2 separate regions of the Homo sapiens genome follow, and region 2 is linked to region 1. Evidence: promoter capture Hi-C in 16 types of primary human blood cells and fetal thymus (Javierre and others, 2016). All regions are on one chromosome and are shown on one strand. Each heading gives the region's core, a stretch centred on a gene start or on the middle of the fragment in contact. The rest is flanking DNA. Distances are from core to core; before and after follow the strand shown.

Region 1 (7,725 bases), core at 2,538-5,037:
TAAAAAGTTTAGAATCAGCTCTTTTTTCCTCTGGAAAAGCATGAGTTTTGAGTAAAAGCACATAGGAGAAAATTCGTTCAAATTAAATTACAATAAAAGATTCATATCTGGCCAGGCGCAGTGGCTCAAGCCTGTAATCCCAGCACTTTGGGAGGCTGAGGCGGGTGGATCACAAGGTCAGGAGATCGAGACCATCCTGGCTAACACGGTGAAACCCCATCTCTACTAAAAATACAAAAAACTAGCCAGGATGGTGGCGGGTGCCTGTAGTCCCAGCTACTCGGGAGGCTGAGGCAGGAGAATGGCTTGAATGCAGGAGGCGGAGTTTGCAGTGAACCAAGATTGTGCCACTGCACTCCAGCCTGGCGACGGAGCGAGATTCCGTCTCAAAAAAAAAAAAAGATTCATTTCCAAAATTCAATCCATGTTATGTGTAACAATTCACAAGAGGAATGTTTCACTCATCTAGTTATAATTTCTGCTATAAAAGAAACACAAGTTTTAAAAATTATTTTCAAGTAACAAGCATATCCGATAAGAAAGTTGTTTGAAAAAGTGCTACACATATTGGAGAAAAAATTAAGACAAATTAGTACTATACTATCAACATATTTGACTTCTACCATCTACAAGCAAATGATCTTTCTTTTTGGCCCTTACAGGTCATGAAAATAATCCCTAAAATTTCAATATACCCACAAAGACTAAATTTCTGATTGAAATGCTAAACAATTCCTTTCTTTGCCTTTCAATTTTATTCTAGAGATAATCATGGTTTCATCTTCCATGTTCCACAAAATCAGAATTTTTTATGAATAGATTACTTTTATCGATTTTAACCAAATTTTACCAAGTCTAAAGTGAAAAATGTTATCCCATTCAATTTTTAACAATTTCAGACCATATTTCAACTCTGTATTAATGTTATATACTATACTACACTGAATTAGCGTTTCAAAAAATTTTTTAACTCAAATATTTAAAATATTAATGTGCATAAATCACAATAGTGAATTCACAAAAAATGAACACACCTGTTTATCAACAGAGTTGAAAAATCTGAAAGTTTCCAGCACACTAGATGCCTCCACTGCCTCTCCCAAATCCCTGCCCACCTTTCGCCCCAAAGGTGAACATTATTCTGACTTCCAACTCATTTGTTTTATATTGGTAGCTTTTACACATGCTTTTCTCGGGTCAAATTATTTAACTATTTCCCAAAACTTTCCTCGATTTTTACTAAAACTTAGGACTAAGGTCACTAAATATTATTAATTCAAAAAGTACTTCTTTAAAGAGAGGAAGAAAATTGAAGCGTCACCGTAAACTCCCTCAACTAAACATAAGCAAAGGAAGTGAGAGCAACAAGATTATTAGGGCCTTCTTCAGGTATTCAATTTCCTTGACACTGTAGATTACAGAAAAAAGCAAAGGAACATAGCCGCTCAAACTATTTGTCACTTTGCTTTTATCCAGTCGGACACTCCTTCTGTCTTGGAGAGCTCACTATACCTTTGCTTCCTTAAGTAACTGCCATACCCCTACCTACCACCACAGTCAGTCAGGAGCTTCAGCCACCCTCACAATCCCCTTCGAAGGCTGAAATCACTAACATCTCACCCTACCAAAGTTGGGCATGGGGCAAATAACACCTGGTGTTGTTGCACAGGTGTGTTCACTTCTGAATATTTTTACTGCATAAATCCCATGTTTATTAAATCTCATTAAATTGTTAGGAGAGGGCAAAGGAGGTTAGTACTACAACTAGGATTTCTGGTGGAACTAATTTACAGAACACAGGAAAGGTCAGAGACCTTTATGCAACTATAGAAGCACGAAAAGCATTCTGTGGCAACTGAATACAGTTTATTCATTGATATGGGGAAGTAAAACAACACTGCAAATAAAATCTAAAGCTAAAGTGCAATTTTCTATGCACTACAATGCGATATCCCAAACAGGTTAACTTCTATGTCTCCTTACCTCCATACTCACTCCCACATGTGACTGATTATCTCAGTTCTTCATCATAATAACCACATGCCCTTCTCTCATTATTAGCTCAAAACTAGCAAAGGGACAAAACTCAACACAGCATCCAGCATTGTTCAATACTGTGCGAAATGCCTTTAAAAAATCTACTGAGTTAGGAATAGTTTTGGACCTACCGGATTAATTGTTTTAGGGTTCAGTTTATCACTTGGTCTAGGATGAAGTTTTCTTGCAGACTCTGGAGAACTGGTTGACAATGAGGATTTGCTTCCCTGAACTGCATTCCTGTGTTTTAACTGTGTGCTTGATGATGTCCTTTGATCATAGTTACCTGGAAAAAAACAGAACATCAATAGAAACCAGGTACAAGCAATAAAGTTCACCCTGCATCCATCTGTAGCACAGAAAGTGCCATGAACAAACTTGACCTCTTCACTTAAAAACAAAAGCTCTGTACCTGTTGCTCTGTTTTTCAACTGTGTACCTCCAGAGCCCTCTGATTTCTGCATTGCTTCCCTTTCACTCCTGCAGTTTAAAAAAAAAAAAGTTGATTTCAAAATTTGTTTGGAGGGGCATTTGTTATCAATAAAAAGACAAAACCAGAACAGAGTATACAATACAGTAAAAGACACACAAAAAAGTTGATATGGAGCAAAATACTGGAAAAGACTAATGAGAAAACATGAAATTATGTCAACTTCAATAGTATCAATAACAGCAAAATAATCATCTCCAAGAAATGATGTACAAAAGTCAACTTTTTTTCCATTCAAATTGTCAAAATAAACTGTTAGAAACTCACTTCCAATTCTCTGACCACATTAGAAAACACAGACTAGATTTCTGAAAGGAGTGGTTGGTACATTCCCTGTCATCTTCTCCATCTTCTCTGGCCTCTGTATTTCCAAAGCTCCAAATGTTAACATGTGCACATCAAGCTCTACTTTTCCAGTGACATAATGAACTCTCCTACCCAATGTATCACAAGCTCCTTAAACTGAATGTAACTAAAACTGAGGTTGTCACACTGAAGTTATTATGAACCCCTTGTTAACCCAGGGTACCACCAGTTTTCTGGTCCTCAGACTGAAAAACTTAGAATCACCATTGTCTCCTTTTCCTTCATTTCCTACACTCAATGCTACACGTGATGAGAAAGAAAGAGCTTTGGGCTCAAATATGGGTCTGCATCTCAGTTCTACCAATTATGAAATTTATGAATTTAGGCAGATTATTTAACCTCCCTAAACCTCGACTTCCTGACCTGTTTAAAGAGGGAAATAAAAGCCTGTCAAGGTTTTCTGGAGGTGCAAATGAAATTATCTCTCAAGTTACTCACCCAGGGAATACTGGTTCACTTTTCCCTTACACAGTTGCTTTTTTTCTGCTAATGGAGGACTCTAGTTCATACCCCAAGGTTTCCAGCTAATCCAATCAATTTCTACAATTGTATCTCTAGCAAGAAATACACACACACAAACACACACACACACACACACACACACACACACACTCATATACCCAAGTGCCTACTGGTATTTTTAGGCCAAGCTTCATTCCCAACTTCCATGAAGCCTTTCCTCATCTTGGTTTCTCAAATGTGTATTTCTATGGCATTGATTTCTATCCTGTGTCCTTATTTCTACTTGATTACTCTGTTCCCTCACTTCCACGACAATCTAGTTATTCTATTAGCACACGTCTCATTTTAATGCCTTTAATAATGACTGCCTCTCAAGTATAGTGTAAGATCTTCCCTTAGGACAACACAGGTAAAGTCCTCTTCCACCTCCAAATGACACTTTTTCAAATATTTGATGGCATTAACTCTTAACTCCTTCATTTTTTCTTCTTCAGGATAAACACTGATACTTTTTAAAATGATTCCTCACATGAAATGCTTTTAATCCACTTAACAAGTTAGAAATCCTCAAAAGGAGGACAAAGCTCCATGTTATAAAATTTAGCCAGATATCTCAAACATGATGTACCAGCTTAAAGTCTGATACCATGTAAAGATAACCTAAATGTAAGCTTGCTTCTGCACACTGAATAATTTCAATTTCCTTGATTTAGTACATTGATCTCATTTATCTCATCCCACTACCAGCAGATGACTTACTTCCCAGTATCACACTTCACCTCCATTCCCAGGGCCATTTTCTAATACTACGGTAATTAAAATCTCATTAAAGTTGTCAGATAATAGTCTAAAATAAGCTGAGAGAAGCTTTAAATATGTTAACCTACTATTGTACTTCTGTGATCATTCAACAAGTATTTAATATTGTGCCTGACTTCTGTTTTGAGAAGCTCCTGGAGGGGGAACAACACAAGTTTCTATTGAAAAAAAAAATGCATCAGTTTCCTCAACTCTATAATTGGGCATAATTACAGGAACTACTTTAAGTGTTGATGAAGACTAGTAAGAATATATGTAAAACAACATTTCCATAATGGGAGGCATGCAGTAAGGGCCACATGAGTCTTAGCTATTATTATAATTTTCTTTACAATGGTACAAAGTGTTCTTCAGTATTACTATTACTAATAGTGAAACCACATGTTTTGTCATTTTTAAAAAATCTGGCTTAACATCTTGGGCTACATCAATTTGAAGACCAGCTGAGGTCCAATTTCTCTTGATCATCAATTGTTAACAGCTGCAACAGATAAAAGCGATGCACAGCAAAGACGCGTACCCACAAACATAACAAGGGCACAGGCAGCCATATCAAATTATGATGCACATTTTTCAATACTACCTACCAATTCAGTGGAAGTTTTGGATGGAATTTTATGGCTAAATTTCTATCTTCCTTCACGTCAAAAAGTTGTTCCTGTAACAAACTAATGGGGAGGTGTTGCATTATATTTTGAATGAGTTCAAAAAGTCACCAAAACTCATTTGAAAAAGTTTTAAACATGGTAGAAAATCGAGCTTCTACAGTTTATGAGTATACAGGACAACTTTTATGTACAATATATAATTTTCAGCATTAAACATACAGTAATGCAAACACGTCTACATCCCCTTTCAAAATCCTGTATTAGAGAATTTCCTTCCAAAACAATTGCTTTTTCACTTAAAATTTTTATCCTTTACCTTAACGACAAATTACAGTTGGCTCTCCGTATATGCGGGTTCCACATCTATAGATTTGACCCAACCACGGATACGGAGAGCAGACTGGAGGACTTTGGCATGGGTGGATTTGGGTATCTGAAAGAGACTGGGGGGAGGGAGGGAGTCCTGGAGCCAATTCTCCACGGACACCAAGGGACGACGGGAAATGTAGTCAATTTTTTAAAATAATATCCACCTGGAAGCATGCCACTGACAAGCCTGGAGCATGAGTTGTTTGTGAAAGCAAGCTTTAAAAATCTTATCCTTGGTAACCCTTTCAAGTGGTTTTTCATTAAATAACATGTAGAGGATGGTGTAAAGGGGCAGTGATGGGGAGAAGCGAACCTGTAAGAACTATTTTGTGTTACAAATATTATCAAGGTCACCGCTCATTCTTTTACAAAACAAGATAAACATTCTAATTATAGATATTAGAATCCATAAATCCACTTAACTTCGAACACCTAAACTATGTCACAATATCAGAAAGCAAACAAACCACCCTATGAAGCCCACACATTCCCCTTAAAGCTTCCTTGGTTGCTACAGGTCATCTATCTACAAGGGACTGCCGGTATCTGTGTCAATGGTAGGAAAGTGTACTTTCTATCATTGTTTGGGCAGCTGATATAGCCTATTTCTTTCCCTGTATGTACTTTCTCCCGTACTCAGCTTTAAGACCACTGAACTAAAACAATTCTCAGTCAGCAGAGCCCTGCTTTCTAATCCAGGTCTAGAAAGTTCCAAACGTGTAAGTAAGAGCCCCACTAAAGAAACCATGTTCCATTTGTAAAGCTCTGTCAAATTCTAAAAGACCCAGAGCCCAATAGTCACTTATCCCAGTCCCTTTTTTACCAGAAAGTAAATTCAAAGGGCCAGTATTAGGGTCGCACAATCTGCTTAGGGGTCTTAGAATCTATTTTCCACCTTCCCAGCCACCCCTCCTACACTCACTTCTAGATACTTAAAGACCAGTCCAGAGCCAGGATGCTATCAAAGTCAGCAAAAGAGGAAGACACAGAAAAAAAATAAAGAAAAAACAGAGATTTTTTAAAGGGGCCGAGGGAGGAGTTTACCAGTTTCAATTAAGGTTAACGAAGGCTACTCTCGACTGACCCTCTACCCCAGGAAAGGAGGGGTACACTCCAAGCGCTCACGATCTCAAGGGTCCTTAGCAACGGGGTCCAGCGGCCCTAGCAACAGATCAGGAAGCAAGCCGGCTTGGCAGAGAGCGCAGACAGGACACCTGTACCCGCGGTTCACGGCTCCGGGGACCCGTTCCTACCGCGCCTCTCTCCCGCCGCGATCCGCACACCAGCTGCCCCCCACCGGGGGGGGCTTATGACCGGCACTCGGTCGGCCAACAACCGCGGCTACCGCCACCGAGCGCCTGCGTTTGGGGAAATGAGGCTCCGCGCGGCCCGCCCCTGAACCTGGTCGCGCCGCGCAATGACGTCAGACGCACGCTGCGTCGTCTAAACCAATGGTAAGAGGTCGCGGAGGCGCCCCAGAAGAGGGTTGCCCAGGCAACCAGGCGCCAGGAGTTCAGGGGGCAGCTCACGCACTGCAGGCGCTGTCTCTGGCGACAAAGGGGCACGTGGTGGAGGATGTTTTTCGAATAAGAGGTCCGGAGAGCAGAGGGACGATGACGGGTTCCCAGTCGCCTGCGCCCTAGCCTCTCTTCAGTCCATGTGCTTAACTCCTAAACGCTTTTCTCGCACACTTAATACTCATTGTTCCTCAGCTATCTTACCCTCAATACTCGGAGAACTGAAGACTGTGAACTCCTCCCCCCGAGTCTTCAGGGGTGAGAGCCGAAGCCATCTGCATGCCCAGCTGTGGGATTTTCTTGTAGTTTCCTGTTCTATCTGGCTAAATCATAAGCCTAGCTGTGGAAATTCGTTTCCTGTCGTATTTTATGAATCTCATATGCTATTGCATTCTTCACAGTATATCCGCATTTAAATAGTAAAAAGCACGATTTTGTGCTCTACATTATTTTTAATAGTAAAAATATTTAATAGTGAAAAGCACGATTTTATGCTCCACATCATAACAAAACTGATGCTGCAGGAAAATGCATATTCCCTTGTATTGCATTCCACCAGCAACAATTTGGGTTGTCATAGTTAAGTCCAAGCCCTTTGGACCTGTCCACTGCACTCCTCTTTAGCATCCTCTACTGTTGCCAACCCAAAGCCCTAACTTTTTGCTTAGGTAACACTAAATTGGCATTGTCTGAGCACTCGAGGCTGTGTAATCCTTCTGTGCTCCTGTAGCTCCATCCTTGCTACTTGACCAGCACCCCAGAAGCATCTTCATTAGATTGTGAGTTTCCTCAGGATAAGGATTTTAACTTTGCCCTTTTTATTTCTCCAGCTTCAAGCATAATGCAGTGGGTATTCAACTAATGTCTTCTGAATGAATAAAATGAATTAATAAATTCTGTCTATGTCTAATTTCTCTAATGTTCTGTGAACCTTGCATACAAATCTAAGTTTTAAAATTTATTATAATGTATTTACCTATCTTTCTCACTAGACTGAAATTGTCTTTATTGCTTTTCTATCCCCAATGCCTAGCGCAATGCATGCTTAACTAACGTT
Region 2 (7,725 bases), core at 2,758-5,257, 4.5 Mb before region 1:
TGTATAAGAAGCAGAAGTTTTTCCTGGTGGAGAGGATTTAGACTTAGAGCTGGCTACGGTGTTGAAAGTTATGCTCGTGCTTATCCTGTCTCAGTCCCCAGCCTGATTTTTGCCCCTTTTGAACACAGACCGAACAATCTGTGCCCCCTGGCAGGCAGAATATCAGAATGACCTCTTTCTTTGGATCAAAAGCAAGCCCTCAGAACAAAAAATCAAGATGAAGGGAGAACTTCATCCAGTTTTATTGGTGACCCACAACAAAATTTGTCCAAACGGATGTAGTCTGGTGAGAACTGCAAACTCATCGGTCTGTGAAACTGGCTTAAACAACAGGGTTGTAGGGCCCATGGCCATGTTCTACCCTATGATTCTCCTTCTTATGGAAAATAACACTTTTAGATAGCACAATACAAAACAGAAGTACAAAGGACAGCACAAAGGATGAAAAGGAATTGCCTGATTCCACTAAGGATGCAAATAGGAACCAGTAACAAAATCTGAGTACCAAACTTCAAATGAATAGCTTAGGAACTCAAGGCAAACAGGGAGGAGTTCCAAGCCAGCACTGACTTACCATGTTGGCATGGACTTGACAAGCCATAAGCAACAAGGCACGAGGAGCCCCTGTGGGCACCACAACTGGCCAAAGGCTGAGGTCCACCGCCATGGACAGCACAGACCATGTCTCAGTGAAGTCTCCAGGAAAACTGGAAATTCAGAGCGTGCTAGAGAAGGGAGTCAGTCACCATCATTTACATTTGTCAAGAGTCTCAAAGGCAGGCAGGGGAGTGGGAAAGCTTTATAGTGAAAGATTCAGGTACAGGGAAGAATTCAGGTGTGCCGATTGGAGGTGTTGGCAAGGAGAAGCTAGAGGTTGGCTAACTAGAAACAGGGCATCTTATGTAATTTAAGGAGGATATTTAGCTTTCTCTGGTTGGTCTTAAGTTAGAAGCGAGTAATAAAAGAGGGAAGCTGGCAGTCATTGCCCAAGTCTTAACCATTCTTGGCTGATTGCTGCAGAGGTGGTGGTTTGGAAGTCTAGTTGCTAGAGAGGTTGTGGGTGAGAGTTCTGTTATCACATATGATCTGGCCATTGTCCATTTGTATAGTCAGTCTATCTAGGGGAAGATGTCATTGAGCAATTACCTCTCATTTAATCATCATAACTGCCTCTTCCATATCCCCATTTTACAGATAAAGCAAAGCTCAGGAAGTTTGAGTAATGTATTTAAGGTTATACAACTAGTGACCCTAGCAGAATTTAAACCTGTGTGTTCTGGACCTATTTTAAATGATGCTTCATCTTGTAAAGACCATGAGGTTATTCTGATGTTGCCCTATTAAAAATAGTAATTACATACTATTATTAAAAATAGTAATTACATACTATTTTAAAATAGTAGTTACAAACTACTATTTTAAAATAATAATTACATACTATTTTTAATAGATAGCATCATTTAAAATAGGTCCAGAACACACAGGTTTAAATTCTGCTAGTGTCACTCATTGTATAACCTTAAATACATTACTCAAACTTCTTGAGCTTTGCTTTCCTGATCTGTAAAATGGGCATATGGATAAATACTTGTTGGGTGAGTGAATGGATGAAAGTAATTTTAGAATACTTCTCTTGAAATTGCTTCCAAAGCTGGTATCTTTTGAATACCTTTAATGAATGCATATCTTGACAATGACTAACTTTTTGGAAACAGACAAACATTTTTCTGAAGTAAGGTGGTGAATAAGGTAAGAGAAGAAGCTGGCTCAAAAACCTGGCGTGTCCATTCAGTAATGACATTAATTTTGGGATTTTTGCACATTTTGCATGTGATTGACAAAGCAGCTTTGAAGGCTTTTCCAAAGAAGAAGTTGCAAAAATAGTTGCATTTTGAGAATAGGAACACAACTTTCCAAAAGTTTGAAAAATACTCATTTTAGAAAGTATGCTAAATTCTTGTTGTTTTGTGGTTTACCTTTCTGTTTAAAGTAGTTAAATGCTCTATGTCATTCAACAAATATTTATCAAACAGCTATTATGTATTTAGTGCTGTGCTTTGAACACAGATATTGGTATAGCCCTTGTGAACCAGGAGTTCACAGTCTAGTTGAGACAGAAAATTAACAATTGAAATGCAATTCAACAAATACCATAAATAGACTGATTTATATTAATAGCTGGATGCCATGGGAACATGCAGTAGAAACAGTGATGAGCTGGTACATGTTGAACAACTGACTTCTAGGGGAGTGGGTTGGAGTGTAAGGGCCTGATTAGCGGTGTTTACTGATTTCCATGGTGTAAATGCTCCCACCATGGCCAACGTGACATCATCAAAAGAGGAGTTGGAAGATGTGCAGTAGTATAACATTACATTGAATTTCCACCATATAGATAAAATGCATGTAAATAACCTGAAGAGCATAGATAATAGTAAAATGTAAAATAATTAGGAAGTGACAAATTTTGAGTATTTTTACTTTTGCTTGTAATATAATTTTTGAGTGGCTGTATTTGAAAACTAGCTCACAAAATTACTGAACATTTAACAATCAGCTCTTGCAAGTGGGTGTGACTCAGTGCAAATGGACAAACCACCAGGTGAAAGCAATGTCAGGAATTACTGTAGGCTCACATAAGATGAAGATTGTAAGGAAACTGGAGGCAGGGATCTCCAGCAGTGAACCTCTAAGTTGTTGAACTGTTACAGCACTGCCAGGTTCCTATGCCGGCTGTGCAGAAACAGACCAGTATTCCGACAGCAGGCTTGCAGCAGAGAAAGTTTTAATAATCACAAGTTACAAGCCAGGAAACAGGAAGAGTTCTCAAGCTTCAATCCATTTCATCAAGGGGTTCTAGGCAAAGTTTTTTAAGGGGATTTGTGGAGGGTGAGGGGCTGGAAAATTTGGGGTTATCGATTCGTTGGGGTAAGGGAGATGAAATCATTAGGATGTGACAATTGCATTCCTCCATGAATCAGCTTTTTATTGGGCCTTCCAGACAAGTTGGCGTCCTTAGTTTTGTTGGTATGCGGGACCTAAAGAAGCAATGCAAACAGAAAGCTTATCTTCTCATAATGTCTTAGATTTTATCTTCAGAGCAGAAAAAGAATGAAGAGTCTTGTGACAAGGGCCACATTCTCCTGGGGTAGTAAGTAGCAACCAGCTACAAGAAAGTCGGCCACACTGCAAGCTGGCTTAATAACAGCAGCTGTAAGCCTAGTTGGATTTTTTTCCCCTCCTTAATCAATTTTACAAAATGTTCTTGGGGATAGTTTCAGAATGGTCAAACTAATTCATTAATTCAATATCAACTTTTTTTTTAGGCCCTACTTTATTCTGGGCACTGTTTTAGGTGCCCGGGGGAAGGGGGCACCGCAGCAAAAACCGAGGTCCTGCCGTTAGGTTAGAGAGTTTACATTCATGGGTATGGGTGTGTGTGTGTGTGTGTATAAACAAACGTCTGGCATGTCACGTGGTGAGTAGTAAGTGCTATGGCTAAACAGTAGTGTCAAGGGGAAAATGAGTGGGGCACTGCTATTTCCTATGGGGTTGTGAGGCAGTAATAAGTGTGGAAATGTATCAAAGTAAAGATCGAAGGTTCTGGCATCTGACAGTTTGAATAAGGCGGAAGCACAGACCCTGCACAGATCTCAACCATCCAACAGGACTGAAACACAGAACTTGGAAAAACCCACGTACCTGCTTCTTACTCTGCTCGCCCGGTCTGCACAAGTGCAAAATCCTTTCCTGAAGTTTGTGTCAGGAACACCAGGGTTTAACTAGACGAATCAGCCGCAGCGGGGCGGGGCTAATTTCAGTCCTTCCTTTGCCAAAAGTCAGCGAAAAGCGCGGACTCCCTCGCGCATGCTCAAATACGCCAACTTCCTCCTGGAGCGCCATCTGAGAAGGTCTGCGCATGTGCACGAACGAGAAGTGTTTTTTTTGTTTTGTTTTGTTTTGTTTTGTTTTTTGTCCCAAGGCGCTGCCGTACCGTCCAGGCGGCGAGTTGCATTCTGGTTCCGTCGTGTGTCTGGCGTGTGGAGCTAGTGCTCCCGCTTATTCGCCACTGTCGCCACCGCTGTCATGAACCGCGAGAGCTTCGCGGCGGGAGAGCGGCTGGTGTCGCCGGCTTACGTGCGGCAGGGCTGTGAGGCCCGCCGCTCGCATGAGCACCTCATACGGCTGCTTCTGGAGAAGGTACCGAGCTGTCGGTCCCCTCCCCAGCCGCCGCGACCCCGGGGCTCTGGCTCCGCCGGGCGTCCCCGCTGGTGCTGCCTCACCGGCAGCTCTTCGCTGCTTGAGACTAGTCCCAAGTCTGTCTCAGCTTGGCTTGCCCTAGCTGACCGACTGCGGTCTGTGCCTTCTCAGCCTTGCCAAAGCCAGTGAAAGCCAAATGGTGTTGTTAGGAGGGGGTGTTGGGGTCGGGGTTTTGAGTCCCGCTGTTTCTAACTTCGGGATGCGGAAGTGAGGGAAAGTCCCAGTGTACTTTTTTATTCGCGGAAAGGGCAAAGTTCGCACCTCCATCTTTCACCAACCCTCAACGACTCAGAACACATAATGGTGTTTGTAGACTGTATGCTAACTCGAACCACGAGCTTTCCGCGGAACTTCACAGGTCTCCCTCCTGCCAGCGTTCATGTATTTTAATTTCATTAAAAGTTTTGTTGTGTTTTGTTTTTTTGAAACAGAGTCTCGCTCTTTCGCCCAGGCTGGAATGCAGTGTGACGATCTCGGCTCACTGCAGCCTCCGCCTCCCGGGTTCACGCCATTCGCCTGCCTCAGCCTCCCGAGTAGCTGGGACTACAGGCGCCCGCCACCACACCCGGTTAATGTTTGTATTTTTAGTAGAGATGGGGTTTCACCATGTTGGCCAGGCTGATCTCAAACTCCTGACTTCAAGTGATCGGCCATTCTTGGCCTTCCAAAGTGCTCGGATTACAGGCGTGAGTGAGCTACAGCGCGTGGCCAAAATTTCACTGAAGTTTGACAACTACCGCCCTTCTCCACGTCCCACCGCCCCAGTCGTAACGCCCTGGTTTGAAGCATCTTCACTGGGGATGTGTTGTATTGGTTTTCAGTTAGTTTCACTTACGGAAATTTAAATATCTCAGTAAACCTCATTGTATGCATTTATCATCACTTCTCGAAATCTGTAAATAATTGTAATCAAATGTACAAACGTTTTGCCTCTTTGCGGTCTCTATACAGTGGTGAATTTATGCTTGAATTTTAGAAAACAAGCAGCGTGGCAAAATACACGTTAAAAAGAAAAACTGTATTCCTGTAGTATTCTAGAGAACGGTAGTTTTATTAAATATAATCATAAGTTTTTTTTTTTTTTTAAGGGCAAGTGTCCAGAGAATGGCTGGGATGAAAGTACACTTGAACTCTTTTTACATGAACTTGCAATCATGGACAGCAACAATTTCTTAGGCAATTGTGGTGTGGGAGAAAGGGAAGGGAGAGTGGCATCCGCACTGGTTGCTCGTCGTCATTACAGGTATCTTTTTTTAAGTAGTACAGGAGATACATCGTTTATTTATTTTTGGTTCAAAATAATGGCAGCAGTATTTATCTTATTAGATTATCAAATGTCAGTTTGTAAACCACTTCTTCCCTGCTCTAATGGATATGTAAGCCAAATGCAACAGGGAGATGGAAACAATTTTATCTCAGCAGGTGCTTTTCAAAGACAATAGAGTAAAAACTAAGTGGGGGTTACCCTGTCAGGTTCTGGGTGACTAACACAGGCTATACGTTTTCTTAGGAACGGTTACCCTAATAAACATATCTGGTTGTAAGAGTTCAAAATCCATTAAGGTTGTTTATAGCTTTCCATATTTCTTTTCTAACATTTGTAGTGTTTTTTTTTTTTGAATGATTTATAGTTATCAACTTTAAATTTTGTTTTAAACTGTGTTTAAACTGAATCTCATTTTATAAATACCTCTGTTGCAATAGATACAGGGAAAGGTGTATTAGATTATTAAGTGACCTTTTTCTTTTGCATTATTGCAGAAAGCTTTTCATCAATTCTGATAACGATTTAATTGGTAGTTAATTGGTAGTTAATATGATCACTCATTGCTCTGTCCACTAACCTTTCTGTGAAGTGTAAACTCTTTTAAATGAAACTCCTGTCTTCCATGCTTTTACATTATAATGAAAATTTCCTGGGCATCGTAGAATTTGTATTTCAGTAAAAACCACTGCAGTCAAAACTGATGATAATGCCTAACTTGGATGAAAATTTCAGTTAACAGTTTGCTGATAACATGGTTGATAATATATGTAAGAAATGTTTTGTACATGAGATTTCAGTGGTGAGGAAGTACAGCACTAGTATTCTTCGATAATCCTCCTATACCGAATTTCTGATATATTTGACTGTCAATTAGAAATTACTCAAATTACGAAAGGGTTTTTTATTTTAAAGAGTATTGAGAGGTATCTTTAAACAATGTATAATATTGTCTAATTTAAAATGAGATTTGCACACTGATTTTCTAGGAGCATATAGTTCTTTTAAAATTAAGGCAATATTTGAACCATCATTGGAACTTAGCCCAGTGTGGAATTAGGGGAAAAGTAAAGAAAAAAGATAATTTGGCCGGGCACGGTGGCTCACGCCGGTAATCTCAGCACTTTGGGAGGCCAAGGCGGGCGGATCACGAGGTCAGGAGATCCACACCATCCTGGCTAACATGGTGAAACCCCGTCTCTACTAAAAATACAAAAAAATTAGCCGGGCGTGGTGGCGGGCGCCTGTAGTCCCAGCTACACGGGAGGCTGAGGCAGGAGAATGGCGGGAACCTGGGAGGTGGAGCTTGCAATGAGCCGAGATCGCGCCACTGCACTCCAGCCTGGGCGACAGAGCGAGACTCCGTCTCAAAACGAAAAAAAAAAAAAAAAAGATAATTTAATATTTCATGTATTCTAGTTTTCTATTGCTACAGAACAAACCACCCTAAAATTAAGTGGCTTAAAACATTTATTGTTACCTCTCATAGCTTTTTGGATTAACTGGGCTCAGCAGGGTGAGTATTGCTTTGGGTCTGTCATGTAGTTGCAGTCAGATACTGGCTGAGAGTTTAGTCATCTGAAGGTTTGCCTAGCATGAAAATTTCACACAGTTACTTCTGCTAGATTCTTCCTGGCCAAGCAAGTTACTAAATTCAGCCCAGATTCAAGTGGAGAGGAAGTAGACTCCATCTCTTGGTGTGGGAGTAGCATGTGGGCATAGGGAGAAAAAGAATTGATGGTGGCCGTCTTTGGAAACTAGCTATCACAGCATAATTGATGAAATTATTTCAATTTAAGTAGGAGAGTTCCACATCATTAATAGTTTGTGACATATATCTGTAACAGCCAAATATTGCTCCTGGTGTTTTTTTGGTTATTACATTTGCATATTTGTACATTGTATTACTCGGAATGCTGAATGTATTTGTCCAGTTTTTGGCCCATTTTTTGCTTAGGTTCATTCATGGCATTGGACGATCCGGTGATATTTCTGCTGTGCAACCAAAAGCTGCAGGCTCTAGCCTTTTGAACAAAATTACCAATTCTTTGGTCCTGGACATTATAAAGCTGGCTGGTATGTACCGTCTTAATCATAATGCTTTTGGCTGTCTGGACACACACACACACCACTGACTCATTTCATTTATTATTGCCCCTTTCCAAAAAGAGTATGAGTGGCTTTTGAAAAGACTTCTTTTT

What was found. The method cuts DNA at HindIII sites, captures the fragments that hold promoters and counts their contacts. A CHiCAGO score of 5 or more calls a contact.
Region 2: the fragment with the promoter of SEPSECS here is called in contact with a fragment that was not itself captured in region 1 in 1 of 17 cell types (fetal thymus); the score reaches 7.4 in fetal thymus.

Annotation. Positions count from the first base shown.
Region 1 is chr4:20,699,258-20,706,982 of GRCh38, reverse strand. PACRGL (parkin coregulated like) reads right to left here and starts at 6,525. Exons shown (of 9, transcript NM_001258345.3): 1 at 6,196-6,525; 2 at 2,450-2,517; 3 at 2,169-2,323. The coding sequence starts at 2,501. RefSeq lists an enhancer at 6,293-6,412. The HindIII fragment of the contact is 483 bases long and covers 3,546-4,028 here.
Region 2 is chr4:25,156,731-25,164,455 of GRCh38, reverse strand. It overlaps SEPSECS (Sep (O-phosphoserine) tRNA:Sec (selenocysteine) tRNA synthase), which reads left to right and starts at 4,007. Exons shown (of 11, transcript NM_016955.4): 1 at 4,007-4,200; 2 at 5,349-5,503; 3 at 7,482-7,600. The coding sequence starts at 4,087. SEPSECS-DT (SEPSECS divergent transcript) reads right to left here and starts at 3,784. Exons shown (of 2, transcript NR_037934.1): 1 at 3,703-3,784. RefSeq lists an enhancer at 3,744-4,043 and a silencer at 4,154-4,323. The HindIII fragment of the contact is 2,962 bases long and covers 3,066-6,027 here.